Regions from separate parts of the Homo sapiens genome. Here regions 2 and 3 are each linked to region 1. The links are contacts of gene promoters, found by promoter capture Hi-C in human tissues and cell types (Jung and others, 2019). All regions are on one chromosome and are shown on one strand. The core of a region is centred on a gene start or on the middle of the fragment in contact, and the rest is flanking DNA. Distances in the headings are between cores, read along the strand shown. Region 1 holds the start of SYT6 (synaptotagmin 6). Region 2 has its middle 95 kb from the start of SYT6. Region 3 has its middle 78 kb from the start of OLFML3.

Evidence for each region. Contacts are between HindIII fragments. The study calls those that stand out against the background at their distance.
Region 2: a contact is called between a fragment that was not itself captured here and the fragment with the promoter of SYT6 in region 1, in 3 of the 25 tissues and cell types used here (H1 embryonic stem cells, IMR-90 fibroblasts and psoas muscle).
Region 3: a fragment that was not itself captured here is called in contact with the fragment with the promoter of SYT6 in region 1 in 2 of the 25 tissues and cell types used here (spleen and thymus).

The regions. Positions count from the first base shown.
Region 1 is chr1:114,152,619-114,155,125 of GRCh38, forward strand. It overlaps SYT6 (synaptotagmin 6), which reads right to left and starts at 1,251. Exons shown (of 8, transcript NM_001253772.2): 1 at 992-1,251. The coding sequence starts at 1,154. RefSeq lists an enhancer at 2,426-2,507. The HindIII fragment of the contact is 10,069 bases long and covers 1-2,507 here.
Region 2 is chr1:114,247,471-114,249,977 of GRCh38, forward strand. No RefSeq gene overlaps it. Among named protein-coding and RNA genes, the nearest start is that of SYT6, 95 kb to the left of the region's middle. The HindIII fragment of the contact is 3,137 bases long and covers 1-2,507 here.
Region 3 is chr1:114,056,439-114,058,945 of GRCh38, forward strand. No RefSeq gene overlaps it. Among named protein-coding and RNA genes, the nearest start is that of OLFML3, 78 kb to the left of the region's middle. RefSeq lists an enhancer at 1,716-2,507. The HindIII fragment of the contact is 6,102 bases long and covers 1-2,507 here.

The DNA.
Region 1 (2,507 bases), core at 1-2,500:
ATACCCTGGGCCGGCCGCCACGTCGCCGACCCTCCCGCAGCTCCCGCCGCCAGGGCGCGACACGCCATTCCCCCTGCCGCGACTCCCCGGAGACGCCGCAGCTGCGCGCCAGGGTCCAGCCCGGCGGGGATCGGGCTCGGGACTCACCCGCTCCGGCGAGCTCGACTCAGCTCGGGCTCCCGCCTCGGCTAGGCAGCCGCCTGGGGCTGCGTCCCGCGCAGGGTCAGCGCGGATCGGGCAGGAGGCGCCCTCTTGGCAAAGTCGGCTAGAGGCGCCAGCTCAGTCGCGCACCGGCCCCGAGTCCGAGTCCGAGAGGGACGGAGGGAGCGAGTTATAGGGGCGAGAGGGGGTGGGGGAAGGACGCCGCAACACCCTCATACCCTCCCCCACCCCGCCCCCTGTCCCCCGCCCCCCAGCGGAGACGCGGAAAACCACTCGCAGCCGGAGAGACACCCGGACACAAAGACCTCGTGCCAGCCGCAGACCCAAGTTTCTCCCGGAGAGACTGGGGGTCCGCCCGCGTTCACCGCGAGAACACACAAACGGACGGACAGACCGACGCACGGACCCGGGGACCTCGACACTCGCTAGGAGGCAAGCCCTATTCCTCAGCCGGGCGCCCCTCGTCTCCCGCTCTCTCCATGGACCCCTCTCCTGGCAAATCGCCCGCAGAGCGAGCTTGGAGATGCGAGGGAAACTGAAGCCCCAAGGGTGCCCCGTCCTGGGAGCCTGGCTGTCTGCGGGGTCCCCCGCATTCCGCAGTAGTAATACAGGAGGGCCGGGGGCTTCTACCCCAACCTCCGCTCCCCTTCGGGTCTCTCCTGGCTGTGCAAGCGATGGGCCAGAGGGCTGGACGAGGCTGGCTCCCAATCCAGAATCCCGAGCTGGGGAGTTCTCTCTAGGTTCTGGGGCTCCTGGGACCGGGGCTTTGGGGAAGGGAGATCGCAGGACGGATATCCAGGAAGGGAGGGGGCCCTGGGTCTCCCGTTACCTGCGCCTGCCGCGCTGGGACTCCGCTCTGGGGGCTGCAGCTCGAAGCTCCGACAAGTCTCCACGTCCAGCCCGAGAGGGGGCGGCCGGGCCCGGCACAGCGAGGCGAGGACCGCGAGCGCCTCCTGGCACCGAGGCCCGCCGGCCCCCCACACTCCGCTCATGCCCTAGACACCCAGGCTTGCCGAGCAGCAGCTCGAACCCGCGCCCCGGCCGCACTGGGGCGGGGCACGACGGCCCCAAGAAGACCCTCCCTGCAGCGGCCCCCTGCGGCTCCGCTCTGCTTTTAATCACTTCCCCGCAGGGTCCCCGCCCCTCACGTGGCATCCCGCGGCAGCTGGCGAGTCTGGCGCCTCGCGGCCGCCCCCTCTACACTCAGGGACTGGCCTGAGTCCGGGGGGTGGGGGTTTCGAGGCGGGAAGCCGGGCTGTCCCGAATCTCGGAGGGTGCAAGGCCAGGAAAGAGTCCGGGTTCCCACTCCGCATTCACTGCCTGGTGTGACCTTGGGCGTCTCTGAGCCTCAATTTTCCTCTCCGTAAAGGAGGTGTAATGATTTTAAGTACTTCACGGACTCCCTGGGGATAGAAAGATCGTGTTTGTGAAAACACTGGGTAAACTGCCACATGCCACACGAATGACAGAGAAATAGATAACCCCGTAACAGAAAGAGCGACGGTCAGGCAGGGTCTGGGAGGACCTTGGCCGAGGTTCCTGACGGGAGCAGTTAGACTGGCCCCCGAGTCCCAGCTTCGGAGGTAGAAGACCCCAAGACAGGCGGGCGATGCGAACTGCAAGACTTTCCGAGCTCCGCAATCCTGCGGTCCGCGGTACCCGCATGTTGCTATGGCGACGGGAGGCAGCGGCCGTCTCTCTCCATGGCAACGGGAGGGAAAAGTTTCTGGCAAACAGGAATGGGGGGTCATTTCAAGAGGGCGCAGGGCGCTCAGTTCCGCCGACCCACCTCCTTGCTTCGGTGAAACAGCACCAGAGATCATGTATCTTTCTGCTAAGCATAACAAGAAAGACAGAAAGCTCAACGGGAGGATTGAGGCTAGACTTAAAGTAGAGATCCCCTCAGAAACTGTGGAGTGAGGCCCAGGAACAGATCGGCTGAGAGGCTTCGAGCTGCCTCACTCAGCGCTGGAAGTCTGTGAGCCATGGTCAGGGAGGCCGGGGGACCAGCGCCCTGCAGGGGCCTATCTCGGGAGTCTCTTGATCTACACCTGTCGGCGGTGGGGCCCCTTCTGTGTGGGGCTCGCCTGAAGCCCCAGACTCAGGTCCATTTGCTCTCCCGGAGCTGGGAAGGAAGCTTTAGCTGCAGCCCCTGGAGGCTGCTGGGTTGGTGTATGCCCGAGTGGCTGGCGAGGGAGAAAGGTCTTGCCTCTTAATTAACACGCTTATTGGAAGTGACTCGGGCAGTGACTCACGTTCCGGAGGGAGGAGATTCGGAGCCTTAGCTCCTGGCGGTCTCCACTGCGCGCCATCTGTGCCAACCGGCCCTTGGACTTGCGATCCCC
Region 2 (2,507 bases), core at 4-2,503, 95 kb after region 1:
TTACTATAAAGACACATGCACACATATGTTTATTGCAGCACTATTCACAATAGCAAAGACTTGGAACCAACCCAAATGCCCATTAATGATAGACTGGATAAAGAAAATGTGGCGTATATACACCATGGAATACCATGCAGCCATAAAAAGAGGATGAGTTCATGTCTTGCAGGAACATGGATGAAGCTGGAAACCATCATTCTCAGCAAACTAACACAGGAACAGAAAACCAAACACTGCATGTTCTCACTCATAAGTGAGAGTTGAACAATGAGAACATGGACACAGGGAGGGGAACATCACACACGGGGGCCTGTTAGGGGATGGGGGGGCTAGGGGAGGGATAGCATTAGGAGAAATACTTAATGTAGATGATGGGTTGATGGGTGCAGAAAACCATCATGGCACGTGTATACCTATGTAATACGTTCTGCAAACATATCTGCACGTTCTGCACATGTATCCCAGGCTCAAGCCTGTAATCCCAGCACTTTGGGAGGCCGAGGCAGGTGGATCACGAGGTCAGGAGAGGAAAACCATCCTGGCTAACACGGTGAAACCCCGTCTCTATTAAAAATACAAAAAAATTATCCAGGCGTGGTGGCGGGTGCCTATAGTCCCAGCTACTCAGGAGGCTGAGGCAGGAGAATGGCGTGAACCCGGGAGGAGGAGCTTGCAGTGAGCCAAGATCATGCCACTGCACTCCAGCCTGGGCGACGGGGCAAGACTGTCTCAAAAAAAAAAAAAGTATAATTTAATAAAACGAAAAAAATGAAACTCTATCAGTGGCAACAGCTATAGACTGAATTAACCACCTAAGACCATTTCTTCTTCCCTCCTTCTTTCCTTCTTCCCCAGACTAACTCCACCCCCAATACCAGCCTCTCTGCAATGACCCCCTGCCCACACAATGAGACCTCCCACACAAGCAGCAGGGCTGTGCTTGGATGAGAAATCTCTCATTTGAGTGACTTAAGGAAATGTCTCTTACTCTTCCAGGGCAGGTCCTTCAAAGTTGCCACTTAGTTCAACTGAAGCCAGAGAGGTGGCCAGAAGATGAGATGCCAGCACTCTCCCTACAAAGTATCCTGGGTCCCGTGGCCTCTCAGTTTGGGGACATAAAACAAGGTCATGATTATGTTGATATCCCAATTGCAATGACTCTGAGCAAGCCCTCCCTTCCCCAACCAGAACTGAGCCCCTCAAGGGGCCCCTAGTAAATTCTGGGAACTGCCCCAGGAAAGCTTCACGTTGGGCACAGGCCAGGCTTCCAGCAGCACCAACCACAGGGGGCTGCCCTGAGGTGCCTCTTCCTCTGGCTTCCACTCACCCGTTAAGCAGCTTGAAAACGCCTTCAAAGGCCACCAATCCTGAGTTCTGTACGGAGGGAGGAGAATGGCCTTTCCCTACTCCGAGGCCGCACTTTGTCACCTGGGTCCTAAAGCATCCCAGCTTGTGCCCAGAATCTCACCAAGTCTGCCATGAAAATAATTCCATCCAATTCTGATCCTTATCCCTGTAGAGATGAAACCCAGGCCAAGGACAGACAGTGGAGAAGAGATCCATGAAACCCCTTCTTTCTTCTTCTCCCAATTACAAAGCTTAAGTGTCGTGCATATAAATAGAGACAGAGGAAGGGGACAAGAACACTTCCAATAACCGGGTTGCAGTTCAGCCAAAATTGCCCCTGAGGCACATAAATGAAAACCAGTCCAGTTAGATAAATCAAGGACATCTGCCTTCTCCCTGTGGCTCTAAATCAATGGCAGGTATATACCAAGAAGAGCACAGAGTCAGCAATGCTGCAGTCTGAATGGCGGGGAGGGGAGAGTGGAGAGGACGAAGCCACAAAGCTTTCTTCTTTATAAGAAAGTATTTATTTATAATACAAACATTTTGCCTCTCCTGGAGAGCATCACCTTTCTTCTTTTCGTTCCTTTTACCTGCTTGAAAGCACAGTTCATTGATTCAGGCTTTTCGCTGGGTCAGCCCACTTTCAACAGACTCTAAGGAAGAGTAGTTAACTCCTGCTCTGAGACCCTCAGGGCAACTGGGCATAATAGAATCTCTCTGAGACTCCTGCAGCCCTTGGCGAAGAGTCTATTCTAGGTATCCAGTTCACATTTTCTCTCAAACTAGTACTAAGTTGAAAAAATAGCATCATAGAGTCTGCCACTACCTGGAGTCAGGGCTTGGCTGTCGATTCAACACAACTACATCTCATCGGATGAAAAGTCAATTTCAATAATAAGATATCTGGGAAGGCTTCAGAAGCTAATTTTCCCATCCTTGGATAATCTGGTACTGCTGACTGACTGTTCCGGGGCGTAACCTGCCAGCCGGTGCCTTCACCAAACACAGAGCACTAGCACCCTGCCCTGGCACCCCAGCCCCGGCCCCTTTCCAACTGAGCTGCCGCACACGACTTGGGGAGCCATCTCTGGCTGCCATTCAGGGGAAGACAGATGGCTGAGAAAAGATTTTCTAGAGTTTCCTGACCAGATTTC
Region 3 (2,507 bases), core at 6-2,505, 96 kb before region 1:
TCCCAGCGGGTAGGAGAAGACTGCCAGGGAAGGCGTGTCTTGGGGGTCAAGTGAAGGAGGTAAGGCTGAGTCGAAGGCCTGGGAAGGCTCTCAGGATAGGAGGACAATGGAAGCTCAGTTTGAGTAAAACAGCAAGTGATTGGGGGATTGAGGAGGTGGCAGCCTTCGATGTGTAGTGTGATGTGAAGTGTGGCCAGAAGTGTGGGCTCTGATTCTAGCTCTGCCACTGACAGTGTGACCTTGGACTTCCACCATCCACCAGCTCCAGGTGCCAGTTCTCCATCTGTAAAGAGAAGGAGGTATTTAGGGCTCTTAGAGTTTTGGGTGTTTCCTCACAGCAACATGGGTAAGAGCAGAGGGACCTCACTGGATGGAACTGGTGCTTGGCAGCTGACCCTGCTATGGGGGTGGATGTGGTCTTTTTACCCCCACAGAACTAGGTATGGATGTCTTTACTGATGTGGCAGGTAGATATTCAGTTCTAAGATTCCTGATGAAATAGCAGGATTTCAACAGATAGTAGAGCTGAGAGGAAGCTGGACTAAGTAACAGCTGGCACCAGAGAGGTGGTTCTGGGGTTAGTCAAGCCCAGATATCTAGCAAGGCTTCATGGTCTGGGCTCCTTTATGTGGGAGGAGGGCTCATTTGTACAAGTAAGGCAGGCCTTTAATCAGTCCTTCCAGGTGGCTACTGTGGCAGCAGTGGTAGCTGATCACCAAAGATGCAAGCTCTCCTTTCACAGTGTAGAGGTATTGTTAGGATGCAGTTGTCTAGTTATATACCATGCTCCTCAATCCACTGTCTTCAGCTGCACCCATAGGACTAGCACTGAGCAAAAGAATGTAAGCAGAAATAATGTGTGCCATTTATAAGCTGAGGAGATGAATTATCAGCTGTGCCTTACTCCACTCTTTTCCCCTTCCAAGACTTAGAGACTGCATGTTGAAAATGATAGCATTACAAGATGGAAGGAGCCTGGATCCCTGAGTCACTGGTTGGAGGAGAGTTGCCCAGAAATATTCTCATTAGACTTTTCATGAGCAAGAAATAAAGTTGTTTTCTGTTAACCCAATGATATTTTGAGTTGTTGTCATGACAGTTAACTTATCCTATCTAATACAGCTATCTTAGACACCTTAAATGAGCCCCAAAGCAGAAGGACAGTTATTTGGAGACATGAAACTTGGAGAACCTAAAGATGAGCTCATTGATCAATCTTAGATAATATTTATTACTAATACATGCCAGACTTTCTTCTTGGTTCTAAGGATACAATGTTAGGATGACAAAGTCCACACTCTTGTGAGACTTGCCTGCCAGTGAAGGGAGACAGATAACAAGCTGACATGCTAAATGCATGATTTGTAGGCTCAAAGTATAACTTATTTTGTTATCCACCGTCTATTTGAAGTATACTCAGTGGTCGTGATCTGTTCCTATACTGGAAATGTGGGTAGATTCCATGATTGTTCTGCCCACTCCTAGGTGATAGACAATCCTTTGGTCACTTTAAGTTGTAAAGACAGCCTCAGTTTAAAAACTGGAATGTCCGATGGAAAACAATGATTAAGTGCTTTTATTTTATCCAAAAGTTGAGTTAGCACCTTTGAATTATGGCCTATAGTTGATGGCATCCTGACTGTAGGAAGGGAAGATAGTTTTTTTTCTCTCTTATTTTATCTTCTCTCCCATCTTCCCTCTTGCTGGCTTGTGGGGAAAAGAAAGAGAGATCAGATTGTTACTGTGTCTGTGTAGAAAGAAGTAGACATGGGAGACTCCATTTTGTTCTGTATTAAGAGAAATTCTTCTGCCTTGAGATGCTGTTAATCTGTAACCTTACCCCCAACCCTGTGCTCTCTGAAACATGTGCTGCGTCCACTCAGGGTTAAATGGATTAAAGGCTGTGCAAGATGTGCTTTGTTAAACAGATGCTTGAAGGCAGCATGCTCTTTTAAGAGTCATCACCACTCCCTAATCTCAAGTACCCAGGGACATAAACACTGCAGAAGGAAGGCCGCAGGGACCTCTGCCTAGGAAAGCCAGGTATTGTCCAAGGTTTCTCCCCACGTGATAGTCTGAAATATGGCCTCGTGGGAAGGGAAAGACCTGACCATCCCCCAGCCTGACATCCGTAAAGGGTCTGTGCTGAGGAGGATTAGTATAAGAGGAAGGAACGCCTCTTTGCAGTTGAGACAAGAGGAAGACATCTGTCTCCTTCCCGTCCCTGGGCAATGGAATGTCTCGGTATAAAACCCGATTGTATGTTCCATCTACTGAGATAGGGGAAAACTGCCTTAGGGCTGGAGGTGGGACAGGCGGGCAGCAATACTGCTCTTTAAGGCATTGAGATGTTTATGTGTATGCATATCTAAAGCACAGCATTTAATTCTTTACCTTGTTTATGATGCAGAGACCTTTGTTCACATGTTTATCTGCTGACCTTCTCTCCACTATTATCCTATGACCCTGCCACATCCCCCTCTCCGAGAAACACCCAAGAATGATCA